Linked DNA regions of Homo sapiens: all the other regions are linked to region 1. Evidence: promoter capture Hi-C in 16 types of primary human blood cells and fetal thymus (Javierre and others, 2016). All regions are on one chromosome and are shown on one strand. Each heading gives the region's core, a stretch centred on a gene start or on the middle of the fragment in contact. The rest is flanking DNA. Distances are from core to core; before and after follow the strand shown. Region 1 holds the start of ANKRD35 (ankyrin repeat domain 35). Region 2 overlaps CD160 (CD160 molecule). Region 3 holds the start of RNVU1-6 (RNA, variant U1 small nuclear 6).

Region 1 (5,018 bases), core at 242-2,741:
AAACTTAGCGGGCGTGATGGCACATACCTGTAATCCCAGCCACTTGGGAGGCTGAGGCAGGAGAATTGCTTGGACCGGGAAGGCAGAGGCTGCGGTGAGTGAGCCGAGATTGTGCCACTGCACTTCAGTCTGGGTGAGACTCTGTCTCAAAAAATAAAAATAATAATAATAAAAAAAGAAACAGTTTGAGTGGCTCTTTTGTGTGAAAGTAATGAGAGATGGGACTGGGAAAGAGGGCGGCAGCATATGACTCCTGAAGAGCCTTGTAAACCACTTAAGAACTTTGGGCTTTACCCTGTAGGTTTTCATATGCATTTTAGTGAGCTCTCTCCGGCGGGGAGAGGAGAAAAGAAAGACAGGAAGACCAGTTGGCTGCGACTGACTGTTCAAGAATTACCAAGAGCCTGAACTTCAAGGGCAGTGGAAATAATGAAGACAGTTTTTTGTTTGGTTATTTTTTGTTTCTATGCGGGGGCGGGGGCGGGGGGGGCAGCTTAAAATAAAATTGCTCTCCTCGCTCTCTGCTGTTTTCTAATTCAGATGTGCGTTTAAAAATTGAGCCTGGGCCAGGAATAGTGGTGGCTCATGCCTATAATCCCAGCGCTTTGGGAGGCTACGGTGAGGAGAATCGCTTGAGGCCTGGAGTTGAAGACCAGACTGGGTAACATAGAGACACTCCATCTCTTAAAAAAAAAAAAAAAAAATTAGCCAGGCGTGGTGGTGCATGCCTGTAGTCTCAGCTACTCGGGAGGCTGGAGTGAGAGAATCCCTTAAGCCCACAAGTTGGAGGTTACGGTGAGCTATGATAGCGCCATGCACTCCAGCCTGGCCGACAGAGGGACAGATTAGAGACACTGTCTCAGAAAACAGAAAGAAAAAATAAAATTGAACCTGATCACCTTTCCTTAGGTTTTGTCCCCCAGGTTACCGTGGGCCGCGCATTATCTCTGCTCTGCTTAACACTACAATCTCCTATTTCCGAACTGCTCTCTTCAAATGCTCTTTTTTGCTTGGGTTTTTGGCCGGGGAATAGTGGCGGGGGAGAGGCGGGGGGAGTTGGCGGGGGCAGAGGTAACTTTACCAGTGATTAAATGCAAATGCGACAGTCCGTGAGACCGAAGCCCCTGGTAGAAGCCGGGACCCTCCTGCCTCTGGCTGCCGCTCTCCGAGGGGCGGGGCTGAGGCGGGGCTTGGGGCGGAGGCCCCGCCTGGAACTGAGGGTGGGGCGGGTCCGGGTCCGGGAGGAGTCTCAGCTGGAGCCCACCCGGTTCCTTTCCTGATTGAGCAGGTCGGATCCCAGGGTGGGTTCAGATTTGAAGGGCGAGGTTCGAGGCCAAGCCCCCGTCGCAGCCTAAGACTGCGGGCTTTTCTCCTCTGCAGGGATGGGGTAGGGCAGGGCCAGGGGCGGAGTTTTGAGCCCAGCCCTTGGGTTCTTGCCTCTGATTGAGCAGGGCGGGTTCTGAGGCGGATCGTGGGGCGGGGCCCGCTCTGCTTTTTGACAGCTGTCTCTTGCACAGCCGCAGCCAAGTCCGGTGGGTTCGGGAACCTGTGGCCCGGCTCTCTGCGCGTCCCCATCCCCCGTGGCCCCGACCCCGGCCATGAAGCGTATCTTCTCCTGCTCCAGCACACAGGTGGCGGTAGGTGCCAAAATGTGTGGGAGGATGGGGTTGGGATCCCAGCTCTGTGGTGACAGAAGTCTTTAGTCCCGTCTCAATGCATCATCGCCTTTTCTTTTTATCAGTCTTTCTAGCTCTTCTAGTCTTGCAAGGAAGCCCGCCAGCTTTGCCTTCCTCAAGACCCTGCCCTGCAGCTTCTGACTTGCCCTGCTCACCTCTGCCATCCCCAAGGCCCTTTCCCCGGCCCCTTTCTTGTCCTCCTAGCATCTACACCCCCGATTTCTGGTTCGTTTTCTGCAACTCTGTCCCCTTCCCATGGCCCTGACCCTACTTCTGCTCCGTCTCCCAGTACCAAACCTCCCCCAAGCATCTTCCTCAGCCCCTGCCTGGCCTCAAGCTCCATTCTACACCACCAAGTCATGCCCCAGAGCCCCATATTTCATCCCTGCCCTGTCCCCGCAATCTTGCCTTCCACGTAGCTCTATCCTTGCTGTTTCCTGTTAGTTCAACAAGCACTCCCAGCCCTGTGCCTTCTGCTAACCCTTTTTCACAATCTCCTCTGTCATTGCTTCCCTCCTGCCCCATGCCACTTTCACTCCCATCTCTCACCAGCACTGCTGTTCCTCAAACATCACTCCAAACCTTTTTCCAATTGATGCTCCCACAACAGCAACCTTCTGTTCTCCCCTCCAACCTCTGCCCTACTCTGCCCAGTGGTCGCCAGTCCCACTTTTCCTCCTGCCTGCTTGCTGTGAGTTAATATTGCAGTCTGGTCAGCCTCACAGGCACTGCCAGAGGATGCACAGTTGCCTGACTGCTCCCCAGAGGACTGGGTGAGTTGCCTGCAGAGTCCACCCCAGCCAGTTCACTGCAGTGTCTGATCATCAGACTGGTTCTTGGGCCAGTCAAGGCTCAAGGCCTTTCTGCCTGCTTTTCCCCAGATTATTCATTTCCTGAACCCTTGCCCAGTTGCTTAGGAATGATACTCTCTGTTTCCTTGGTTGAGGTGGGGGAAAGTGATGATGAGAGAAGAGGATAGAGCAGACTCAGAGTTCCCAGCAGAAGTCACTCTATTCCCCATGTTCTCCCAGAAAAAAAAAAACATAAGATTATAGAAGGTGGTGGCTTAGGGAGGGTATTGCTTCTTCTTCTCTAGAGATCTCTTACAGAGAGCCCCCTTATTTGGAAATGGAATTTTCTGTAGAGGTTGGGGTTACGGCTAATTTAGAAGCAAATTAGCCAGCTACTTGTAGCAATATTGCTTTGCTAACTTGACTTAGTAGTATCGTTCATAAGAAAATATCAGAAATGTTCAATTAGCTCATTCTGCATGGGCAGGTTACAGAATCCTGGAAGCAAGCTATGAGGCAAGAGTATGAACTCTGTTGAGGCCTGTCCTTGTCCCACTTACATTTGCATCTCTACTTAGTTTCCACACATTGATCAACCAATCAAAAGGTATTTACTATTATATGCACCAGAAACTGAGGCTGCCCAGACTCAGTCTTAACTCATAATGACTTTTTAGAAATTCATATGGACTCTTCCTTAGTTACTGAAAGTATTCAATGTTGCCTTTCCCTTACAGGTTTGTGGAGTCTGCCTGCTTCTTAGGAATGGGGAAACTATTTCATTCTTTCTGATCCCCCAATCCTTGGGCAGTACCTCCTTTCCAAGGTGCTGGAATGAGTGGGCTGGCTTTTGGAATTTGGAACCATCCCTCTGTCCTCCTTGATTCTAGCTGTACAGAGGTTTGACCATAAAGAATGACCACCCATTCTAAACTTTTAGTATAACAAGATCTTACTATAATGAGATTATGGGAAGTAAGTTGGATGGGTTTAGAATTATCTAGCTGGAAAGAAAACTGTTTCTTCAGACAGATTGGAGTCATAGAAAGCTTGCAAATAGGGCAGTTTCAGCTGCAGATTGGTTCCTCATGAAATTTCCCCACACTTCTCATGATAAATTCCTCCACTGTTTTGGGTGGCAAACTACTCTGGAACCATTTGTCAGAGAAGTAGTGTGGCAGTCTTTATGGCCACTCCAAAAGCCTGGCTTCCCAGTCACACTGGAAGACTGCCTCTACCCATCTCCACTCACACATTTGGGTCCAGGGCCAGAGCCCTGCACTGTCAGTCTGAGTAAGGACTGAAAAAGCAGTGATCATTTTAAAGCTAATCTAAGTTACCAGTATATAGGAAAATCCACACACAAAAAAACCCCAACTCCTATAATCCCATTTTATTTTAGTCAAGTAGAGGATATCCTTGAGGGTATCTTACCTATGAGCTTACTCTGCCTAGGTAGACCAGAAGTAGACCAGAAGAGAGCTTTAAATAATTGGCACTGGATCATCTGGGCGCAGTGGCTCACGCCTGTAATCCCAGCACTTTGGGAGGCTGAAGCGGGTGGATCACCTGAGGTCAGGAGTTTGGGACCAGCCTGGCCAACATGGCGATACCCTATCTCTACTAAAAATACAAAAATTAGCCGGGTGTGGTGGCAGGCACCTGTAATCCCAGCTACTTGGGAGGCTGAGGCAGGAGAATCGCTTGAACCCGGGAGGCGGAGGTTGCAGTGAGCCGAGATGGTGCCATCGCACTCCAGCCTGGGCAACAAGAGCAAGACTCCGTCTCAAAAAAAAAAAAAAAAAAAAAAAAATTGGTACTGTCTACTGCAATTACAACGTTGAGAATTAGGTCCTGGTTCCCCTTTCTGTTTCCACTCACCTGACCTACAGCAGAAGTCATTCCTTCTCTCTCTACTTGCTGGTGTGCTTCCATGTTGTAGGATGCTTATAGGTACACAGCCAGAGATATAAGGAGAAGGTACAATTACTTCTACAAAAGTCCTCTAATCTCAGCTATGGAAATACAAAGCTTATACTTATTGAGTCTGCTGATTAATTTGGTGATTGCTCCCTTGAGGCTGTGATGGTAATCTAGTGCCTCCTTTCCAAGGTGCTGGGGTAAGCTACAGACTGGATCTTGACATTTGAAAGCATCTCTCTGTCCTTTACTTCAGCTCTGCAGAGGCTTGGCCATGAAAAGTTTCTACCCATTCTAAACTCTACTTAGTATAATGAGATTATAGGAAGTAAATTGGGTGGATTTAGAACTATCTAGCTGGAAAGAAAAGTACCCAGGCCAGGCGTGGTGGCTCACACCTATAATCCCAGCACTTTGGGAGGCTGAGGTGCGGAGGATCACTTGAGCCCAGGAGTTTTTGAGACCAGCCTGGGCAATGCAGTGATACCTCATCTCTAAAAAAAAAAATTACCTGGGTGTGGTAGAGCATGCCTGTAGTCCCAGCTACTCAGAAGACTGAGGTGGGAGGATCACCTGAGCCCAGAGGTCAAGGCTGCAGTGAGCCATGATCATGCCACTGCACTTCAGCCTG
Region 2 (4,930 bases), core at 197-2,696, 150 kb after region 1:
AATAAACTCTTTAGAAGCAAGACTCAGTTGGTATGTACAAAGTGGGATTGCTTTGTATATATTCCGCTTAGTTTGAGTCAGAGCTAGTAATCTGATGCTCTTAAATGTCTTCATAAACTTGGGCAGTGATGTTTCCTTTCTGTGATTATGTGTCACAGATTTTTATATGTGGACTATAATTAGTATAGTACAATGGCTGAAACTTTTCCTATAGTTGGATATATCTTCTGAGACTTCCAGTGATTGTATAATGTTGAGTAGCTCCAGAAGATTATTTGAATAGTAAAAACAAAAGACATCTCTACCTATGTGAGTTTATTATTTAGTTAGAAACACAGAACTAACTATTTAAAACAGGTAGAGAAAGATTAAGATGAATGTGATGTAGTGGAGAAAGCTTTGGAGACTTTGGAGTCAGAACTCAAATGGCTCTAGGTCCCAAATCCAGACTCTCATTTTGATTCTCAGAACAATTCTGTGGAAAGAGAAGATACAATAGGCAATATCCCTTTTTACAGATAGGTAAACAGAAATAGCATCTCAAAACCTCATTTGCACTGGGTGAGGTGGCTCACGCCTGTAATCCCAGCACTTTGGGAGGCTGAGGCGGGTGGATCACTTGAGGTCAGGAGTTTGAGACCAGCCTGGCCAACATGGTGAAACCCCGTCTCTACCAAAAACACAAAAATTAGCCAGGCATGGTGGTGCATGCCTGTAATCCCAGCTACTTGGGAGACTGAGGCAGGAGAATTGCTTGAACCCGGGAGGTGGAGGTTGCAGTGAGCTGAGATCATGCCACTGCACTCCAGCCTGGGCAACAGAGTGAGACTCCGTCTCAAAAAAAAAAAAAAAAAATTCATTTGCCCAATGACAAATAGCTGGTATGTTGCAGAGCCAGAATTTGAATCCAGGTCTTTTTGCCTCCATGGCTAGTCCTTTTATCTCCATGGGATACAGTCTAAAATCCTTAGTTTGAGGTTCAAGACTATCACTAATAAGAGTCTTACTCATCTACTTCAGCCATATCTCTTTCCGTTCCCACAAACCTTAGCTCCCACATTTGGCAGGTCCTTGCCAAGGAGCACAGGTAAAGTGTCTCTTTCCTTTTAATGGCTCACCATGGAGCTGTAGCTAAATTTCTGTGCTCTTACCCCTTTATTCATGTAGTTCCTCCTATCAGGAATATCCTGCCCACTCTCTGCTTAACTATGACAAGAGGTCATCTGTCCAAAGAGAAAGAAGAGAGTTTGTGGATTTAGGAGAAAAGAAAAGACTCCAAATACTGCTATGGGCATTTATTTAAAAAGAGAAATGACCAAAGAGGTTAACAAGTATTTAGATGAAGCTGGGCAGTTGTAGTCTGTGGTGCTCTTGGTCTGCACAAATCTTCCTCTTCCTCCAGCAGTGCTGTATGGATGTTGTTGAATGTTGAGGTCTGTCTGCATTTTCTCATTTTCATGCCAAGTCAATCACTGGATCTGGCTGTCTTCCTTTCTGTCCTACCTATCTTTGCTTGTTTTCTCTCTCTTTCCTTTGCAGTGTTAAATAAAAATTTATTCCCCCAAAATTTGGTGTTCTCATTTTGTTTGACTTATTTTACTATGTTGATGAAGAGGGAGGAAAAGTTTTTCTGGGGTACAAAAACGCATATATTTATCCGATATTTGAGGACTATACTACCCACTTTGGTGAAAGCTGTTCTGTTTATTTACTGGAGCTTAGGAGGGAAGAAGGCAAGTTTGCCCTGATGGTGAGGAGCAAAGTCAAGGATTACACTGATTTGCCCCAGCTTATATTTCCACAGATTCTTGGTATATTTAGCATCTCTTCCCCTGTGCCCTGTTGCATTCTTCTCTGTGCCTATTGTAATGAGAAAGATACTAAGCCATAGTCAGACTCATCTTGCTGTAGCTGTTTTAAAAGTTTCTTTTGGCACAAGGCTTACAAAGCTGTGGAAAGAAAGTTTGTATTACTGCCTTATAACTTAGAATAGCAACAAAATACCTGATATAATGAAGTCTCACCTGTCCTGAGATGCGTGCGTGATAGGCCCTCATGACTGTAAAGGGATTGGAAAAGGAAAGTGGGAACTATTTTATGTATTGCATCTTATTACTAAATTAGGGTTGTAATCTTGAGCAAATCTGATTCTGGTGGGAGTGGGAAGGGGGCTAGCCTTTGATCGCTCCTTGCTGGAAGGAACAATCAAAGAAGCAATAGATGCCACTCAAAAAGTTGAAGGTAGGTTTTCCACGTATAGCTCTGAATTGTTGGCACAGTGGTAAGACAAGGATATTCACTGAAACTAGTTCATGAGCTGAGAGAGGCACAGAGGTCCAGGAAACTCCCTCCTCCTTTTCCCCACATGTAAGCATGATAACTTGACCTATGTGGTGTTTCTGGACCTGAAAAAGCATGTGTACTATTCTACTGAATACTACCTCTTTCAATAATTCTACTAAGCCTTGAGTTGGGGAAGAAGGATAAAGAAAAGAAAGCTTCTAAGTAGTGTATATTTTCTCGTTTAATCAAATATTGAGCTTTGGTTTTTTCCTTTGGTTAACTTTAAAGCTACTTGAATTGAATATAGGAGAAAACAAAAAATTGGATTCAAAAGCTCATTCTCTTCACCTGAGTGGAAAAGGAAAAAAAGGCCAGAGATGATTTTTTTTTTTTTTTTTTTGCTCTAGGATGACTTGGGAATCAAAGATAGTAACTAGTAGTAGGTTGTATGGCTAGACTCAATTTCCCCTTTATAATTTTTATTCTAAAATAAAATTTATTTTACTGGTTACAGTGGCCTAACCAAGGGAATTTAAAGTCAACAAAAAATTATGTCTAAAGGTCAGACTGTTTCATATTCATGTTTCCTCCTGAAAACTGGCATAGGCTTAAATTTGGAAGATCCTTACCAAGGATTACAGATAAGGTCTCTGTTTTCTTTTTGAAATCTCTGTTTTCTTTTGATGACTTGCAAATAAGGGACTGGAATAGGGAATGTTTAGGTGGTCCTGTTTCTGGAAAGGGGAGGAGTCAATCTCAGAATGAATGGGGTGGTGAAGGATGTAAGAGGTGCTTTGCATATAGTAGATCATTACTGAGTGTAAGGTTTTAGAGTGAGAAGGATCTGTATTAATTGCTGTGACGGGCAACAATTAACTCTTTTTTTTTTTTTTTTTCCTTTGAGAAAGTGTCTCACCCTGTCACCCAGGCTGGAGTACAGTGGCATGATCATGGCTCACTGCAACCTCAACCAGCCTGGGCTCAGGTGATCCTCATGCCTTAGCTTGGGACTACAGTTGTGTGCCACCATGCCTAATTTTTGTATTTTTTTGTATAGTTGGGGTTTTGCCATGTTGCCCAGACTGGCCTCAAACTCCTAGGCTCAAAGGATCTGCCTGCCTTGGCCTCCCAAAGTGCTGGGATTACAGGCGTGAGCCACCGCACCAGGCCCTATTTAACTTCCTTGTGTCTGTTTCCTGATGAGTAACCAGGGGATGTTTGCTTGCAAGGGTTGTATAAGGTTAGAATCATCATGTGTAAAGCATCTGATTCATCATACAGGTTTTTTAACAAATTTATTAAGAGCCTGCCATATGTGTGGGACTTTTCGTTGGGGTAAAGAAGACAAAGTCCTTACATATATATAGAGCTTACATTCTGATGCCATTCAAAACAGTGGTAGTTATTGATTTGAGGAATGCCTAAATAAAATGGAGTTAAGAATGCCAAGGCCAGGCAAAAACCTGAATCAGTTGCTTGTTATGCAAAAACGTTATGACAAATTATTGGAAGTTTCACTTTTTGTTATCTAATAGGGAAAACGCTAATCTATATTGGTAAATGGTTTTCAGAGGACTCAGCTACATGTGTTTAATATACTCAATCTGGCCATCAGCCTTTGCTGAGGAGCCGCATTGTTCAAAACCCATCTCCAAACCAAGTCTGTCTCTTGCCTTTTCTTCCTCTAATAGCTGAAAATCTGTTGCTTCAACTTGTAGCCCTCTGTTCATGCAGTGAGTAGAGGTAGTTGTACTAACTTGCCTCTCTCACAGGCCTTCATTCCTAATGAGTCTTACCTCCTACCCATTGAAAAGTCTGATTTATCTGTCTTCCTCCTTAGTGCCTTTGGATCAGTGAAACTGGTTTGAACTTTCCTGTGGATAGCCAGGGCTTGAGTAACATTTTTCTCTCCCCCTGGACATCCTTTCCAACCTTCTCCTCCTGGAGAATAACCAAGGTGGCAGAAATATAATAGCACCCTCATTGCTTGGGGTGCTTACGGCTCTTTTGGACATACCTTGAAGGGCCACAAGGCTGGTGACCAGCATTACCCAGACCTTTTCTTGTAGGAAGCCTGAACTGAGAGTGCCTTCATTATGGCTGAACTCAAGGTGTTGTCTTTGTTTCAATCCCGTCACTGTGTAGTTCCCTGTCTCTGGTTCAAAAGAGAATCATGGATCAGGGGAGGGTTTCAGAAATCATCAGTATCTCCTTTTGCATCATCTCATAACATCTCTTTTATGATCTCCAAGGATTCCTCCCTCTGTAATTCGTTGCCCAAATAAGTATTTTTAACATTGTGGGTAATGATGATGTACTTAGGCAGCCATAAATAAGTATAGAATCTCCTGTGTGTCAGACACTAGGGATGCAGATAGATCTTAAAGTAATTCTAAAGTTTTGCCACAGAGATAGCTGAAACAGCTTAGTCGCCTTGGACTTGGGTATCCCCAAATAGCCCCATTTTCTAGAGTGGTTCAAGCAATCTAGCATAAGTTAAAATCTTGCCCTTTTGGAATAGATCTGGGTTTTTTTTGTTTGTTTGTTTGTTTTGTTTTTGTTTTTTTGAGACAGGGTCTTGCTCTGTCATCCAGGCTAGAGTACAGTGGCATGATCATGGGTCACTGCAGCCTCATGCCCCGAGCCC
Region 3 (5,021 bases), core at 1,178-3,677, 170 kb before region 1:
TATATAGCGCAGAAGAAAAGTTAACTGTGTGTGGGAAAAGAGGAACTAGAGAGGGGTGAGGAAGCACTCGTGATGAGTGAGGGGACTGGCATCTCATTGTCTGGATGCTGTGATTGGCTGAGTTTCGGGTCTCTGATGCTTTTTGAGAGGCCTGAGAGTCCTTTCCTGAGGAAGGAACTCAGATAAAACAAATGTAAGTTTGTTTTATAGAATGGCTTGACCTCAGGAGTTTGAAACCAGCCTGGGCAATATGGTGAAACCCTGTCTCTACCAAAATACAAAAAGAAAAAGAGGGTTGCTTCCAAGATGGCTGAATAGGAACAGCTCCGGTCTACAGCTTCAAGTGAGATAGACGCAGAAGACAGGTGATTTCTGCATTTCCAACTGAGGTACCTGGTTCATCTCACTGGGACTCGTTGGACAGTGGATGCAGCCCACGGAGGATGAGCCAAAGCAGGGTGGGGTGTCGCCTCACCCGGGAAGTGCAAGGGGTTGGGGGATTTCTTTTTCCTAGCCAAGGGAAGCTGTGAGTGACTGTACCTCGAGAAGCAGTACACCCCTGCCCAAATACTGTGCTTTTTTCCACTGTCTTTGCAACCGACAGACCAGGAGATTCCCTCTTGTGCCTGGCTCGGCAGGTCCCATGCCCATGGAGCCTTGCCTGCTGCTAGCACAGCAGTCTGAGATCAACCTGTGACACTGGAGCATGGCAGGGGGAGGGGGTTCTGCCACTGCTGAGGCTTGAGTATGTGGTTCTATGGTCACAGTGTAAATAAAGTGGTAGGGAAGCTCGAACTGGGTAGAGCCCACTGCAGCTCAGCAAGGCCTACTGCCTCTAGATTCCACCTCTGGGGGCAGGGCATATCTGAATAAAAGGCAGCAGACAGCTTCTGCAGACTTAAACGTCCCTGCCTGACAGCAGGGACTGCTGTCATAATCATTATGATTATGAATCATAATCATGAAGACAATCTGTATTCCAGAATAGTAAGGGAACCTATTCCATCAGGGAGCCAACTGAAAACATCAAATCCCAGTTCACACCCCAGGGTGTGGTGTCATGCACCTGTAGTCCCAGCTACTTGGGAGGATTAGTAAGGAGGTTTGCTTGAATTCGTGAGGTCAAGGCAGAAGTAAACCCTGATCATGCCACTGTACTCCAACCTGGGCGACAGTGAGACCTTGTCTCAGAAACAAACAAACAAACAAAAAACCCCACAAAACCAAACAACAACAAATTGTCACCTCATTCTGAAATGACAGTGGCAAACATCACTTTGCTATTTGAAAATTAAAAGAAGCCGGGCGCGGTGGCTCACGCCTGTAATCCCAGCACTTTGGGAGGCCGAGGTGGGCGGATCACAAGGTCAGGAGATCGAGACCATCCTGGCTAACAGAGTGAAACCCCATCTCTACTAAAAATACAAAAAATTAGCCGGACGTGGTGGCAGGTGCCTGTAATCCCAGCTACTGGGGAGGCTGAGGCAGGAGAATGGCGTGAACCCGGGAGGCGGAGCTTGCAGTGAGCCGAGATAGCCCCACTGCACTCCAGCCTGAGCGAAGAGCGCGAGACTCCGTCTCAAAACAAAAAAAAAGAAAATTAAAAGAAAAACACTCCCTCTTGCTATCAACCTGCCCTCTTGCTCTAACTTGTCTGACCCATGGTTTAAAATGCCCAAAAGCTGATGTACTCAAATTATAGTACACTTACCTGTTCTGCACCAGCATTTACTTTTGTCTGGAGGAGATCACCATGCATGGTCCTATACATGTCTAATGGCATGGAATGATGAAGGGTAGTGTCTTTTAGGATAGTTGGATACATATATATATATATATATATATATATATATATATATATGCGGAATGCTACATCACAAGAATAAGAATGTGAAAAGAACCAGTTTCTTTTGTAATCCTAAACGTTCTAGTCTGAGAATTAAAAGCCATTGTTCGAAGAAGGGTGCCCAGGGTCCAGCTGGTCGCCGAAAGCTTGCTCCGCAATACAGGCTAAGGACCAGCTTCTTTGGAAGAGAACAGATGAGGGAAGCAGGAGAGAAAAAAGGGAGAGGCAGACGTCACTTCCCCTTGCCGGCTCCGGCAGCGGGTTGGTCGGCTGAGCGGCAGAAAGGCAGACGGGGACTGGGAAAGGCGCTGTCGGTGACATCACGGATAGGGCGACTTCTATGTAGATGAGCCAGCGCAGGGGCTGCTGCTTCGCCACATGCTGCTTCGCCACGAAGGAGTTCCCGTGCCGTGGGAGCGGGTTCAGGACCGCTGGTCGGACCTGAGAGTCCCAGCTGTGTGTCAGGGCTAGGAGGGCTGGGGGGGAGGGGGGTGTGCGCGGGGCAAGTGACCGTGCGTGTAAAGGGTGAAGCGTGTGAGGCTGCCGGCGGGGCGGAGGTGCAATAACTCATACTTACCTGGCAGGAGAGATACCCTGGTCACGAAGGTGGTTTTTCCAGAGCGAGTCTTATCCATTGCACTCCGGATCTGCTGACCCCTGCAGTTTCCCCAAATGTGGGAAACTTGACTGTATAATTTGTGGCAGTGGTAGACTGCATTCGCGCTTTCCCCTGTATTTTTGTCGTTTTAAAAATAGGTTTTGTTTGCTGCAGAAACGCATACTGGGCGTCAGCGTAAGCTGAGAATCAGGTCTTTGTTCCCATCTGTAACTTCACTGAAACTAAAAATTTGGGACATCGTGGTTCTCACGTTTGTAATCCCAGCAATCTATGAGGTACGTCGATAGGTTATGTTTATGTTAATATCGCTCGACCTCAGGCGTGTGTGGGCAAATATAGTGAACCCGTCTCTACTAATCTCTTATCTTTTTTTGTTGTTGTTCTATAGAAATAAAACTAAGCTTTTCTTTTCCCTATGGGATTAACAGCAAACAGTCCGCTGGAGTGTATGGCGCGATCTCGCCTTACTGCAACCTTTGCCTCCTGCGTTCAAGCTATTCTCCTTCCTCAACCAGAGAATACTCAGCCTCCCGAGTAACTGGCATTACAGGCTCAGGCAACCAAAAAATTAGGTCCGGCTAATTTTTTGAATTTTTAGTAGAGACATGGTTTCACCGGGCCGGGCGCACTGGCTCGCGCCTGTAATCCCAGCACTTTGGGAGGCGGAAGCGGGTGGATCATGAGGTCAGGAGGTCAAGACCATCCTGGCTAACACAGTGAAACCCCATCTCTAATAAAAATACAAAAAAAAAAAATTAGCCGGGTGTGGTGGCACGTGCCTGTAGTCCCAGCTACTCAGGAGGCTGAGGCAAGAGAATCGCTTGAACCCGGGAGGCAGAGGTTGCAGTGAGCTGAGATCGCACCACTGCACTCCAGCCTGGGCGACAGAGTGAGACTCCGTCTCAAAAAAAAAAAAAAAAAAAAAGAGTGACAGGGTTTCACCATGTTGGCCACCCTGGTCTTGAACTCCTGACCTCAAGTTTTCCGCCTGCCTCGCGGCCTCCCAAAATGTTGGGATTACAGGCCTGAGCCACCGCACCTGGCCTGTTTACAGACTTTACAGACACATTTTGTTTACAAGCTTTACAGGTACAGTTCAATTGCGATTAGTGTATATTATGTTTGGCCCAAGACAAGTGTCTTTTTTTTTTTTCCAGTGTGGCCCAAGGAAGCCAAAATTTAGACAACCCTGCTCTAGAGGGTTTGATTCATGGTTCCACTGGGTTATGCTTATTGCCTATAATTCCATTTGATATTTTCCAAATTTGATTTTTTAAAAAGCGTTTTCCTGAAGCACCCTAAAGCTTTCCTAATAATATGAGAACTTAAACCAGATTGGATGTGACAAAACCCTGCTGGAATCCTGCAACTTCTAACCTTAATGTTAGATCAAGAAGCAAAACACCCACCAGTCCAAGGGTCAGGGAAGCTGAAGATCATGCCTGAGCTGTAACAACGCCCTTCCCAGTATACAAAAGAGTGTAACAGCCACTCGAATTCTATCTTCCAAGTGTCTCCTGTTGCCCAGGCTAACCTAGAGCTATCTAAAGATGGCAAATCTGGGAAATGTGCATTCAGCTTGGCAAAACTGATACATTACAAATCCACCACAGTCCACTTCTTCTCAAAGTGGCATCAATGTACATCTTCCTCCTCTTCTTTTTTTCCTCCTCTTCCTCTTCTTTTGCTTCTTCCTCCTCCTTTTTCCTCCTTGTAAAATCATACTTAAGGTTCAAATAAAGACAATATGAAAATCATACTTTTTCTCATTCAGTGAAAATATGCCAACCCTTTCCCCAACAGGATAAAGTCTTTGTCTTTGAATGATGTTCACTCCTTTTTTAGCTAGATAGATCACATTCCATATTTGCTTTCCTGTAACCTAAATATTGAGATTTCTAAAAGTTAATTATTAATGAATGTGCTAGCTAGGGTGATGGAAGAGGAGAATTCTCAAGAAAAGTTTTGGTTAATATACACCCAAATGTATTCATCTCAAAATAATGAAGAAATACTCATAACTATTACAAGTCCTGATTTCTGCAACTGGCACTGGCACTAGCTGGTATTTGTAACTATCTTCACATCTTGTACCCACAGCCAGTTCCTTTGGGCCTGGGCCGGTGGACGTGAGCGTGGGAAGGACAAGAACCCGCGGTGCCCCCCACCGCACTATCCTCGGGTCTCCAGAGGTGGGATCCACCGGGCAGGGGCCTTTGCTGGATTCTAAACCGGCTCTGGGGATACAAGAACAGCTGCCTTTGAGAAACAGTTCAGGTCTCTATATTCCAGACTTCCTAGTAGGACTAAACGCTTAACGTTCACACGGGAATTCATGGTTCTCCTAAAACCCTGCGGTGGAATGCCTTCCTTCACCAAGCATTTATTGGGCACCTACTAGGTGCTAGGCTGGCTCTGGGCGAAGGGCTGCAGCCTGTGCAAACTCCAGGTCCCTGTCCGGTGGATCCCACCTCTGAGGGCCCGAGGGTGACGCGGTGAGGACACCACGGGTTCTGGTCCTTCCCACGCGCGCGTCCGCTAGCCCAGGCCCGGCGG

What was found. Contacts are between HindIII fragments. The CHiCAGO score rates a contact against its expected background, and 5 or more counts as called.
Region 2: a contact is called between a fragment that was not itself captured here and the fragment with the promoter of ANKRD35 in region 1, in 2 of 17 cell types (erythroblasts and endothelial precursors). The highest score is 5.7, in erythroblasts.
Region 3: a fragment that was not itself captured here is called in contact with the fragment with the promoter of ANKRD35 in region 1 in 15 of 17 cell types (naive B cells, non-activated CD4 T cells, naive CD4 T cells and 12 more); the score reaches 12.2 in naive B cells.

The regions. Positions count from the first base shown.
Region 1 is chr1:145,882,339-145,887,356 of GRCh38, reverse strand. It overlaps ANKRD35 (ankyrin repeat domain 35), which reads left to right and starts at 1,491. Exons shown (of 14, transcript NM_144698.5): 1 at 1,491-1,637. The coding sequence starts at 1,599. ANKRD35-DT (ANKRD35 divergent transcript) reads right to left here and starts at 1,177. Exons shown (of 3, transcript XR_001737758.2): 1 at 1,082-1,177; 2 at 28-141. RefSeq lists silencers at 1,098-1,187, 1,428-1,617. The HindIII fragment of the contact is 4,625 bases long and covers 1-3,514 here.
Region 2 is chr1:145,735,505-145,740,434 of GRCh38, reverse strand. It overlaps CD160 (CD160 molecule), which reads right to left. Exons shown (of 6, transcript NM_007053.4): 5 at 4,301-4,438; 6 at 1,147-1,949. The coding sequence ends at 1,942. It overlaps RNF115 (ring finger protein 115), which reads left to right. Exons shown (of 9, transcript NM_014455.4): 9 at 1-1,567. Among named protein-coding and RNA genes, the nearest start is that of CD160, 18 kb to the right of the region's middle. The HindIII fragment of the contact is 2,101 bases long and covers 396-2,496 here.
Region 3 is chr1:146,049,639-146,054,659 of GRCh38, reverse strand. It overlaps RNVU1-6 (RNA, variant U1 small nuclear 6), which reads left to right and starts at 2,416; the gene lies at 2,416-2,579. It overlaps LINC01719 (long intergenic non-protein coding RNA 1719), which reads right to left and starts at 2,064. Exons shown (of 3, transcript NR_125968.1): 1 at 1,712-2,064. RefSeq lists enhancers at 1,746-2,477, 2,478-3,206 and a silencer at 2,327-2,566. The HindIII fragment of the contact is 874 bases long and covers 1,991-2,864 here.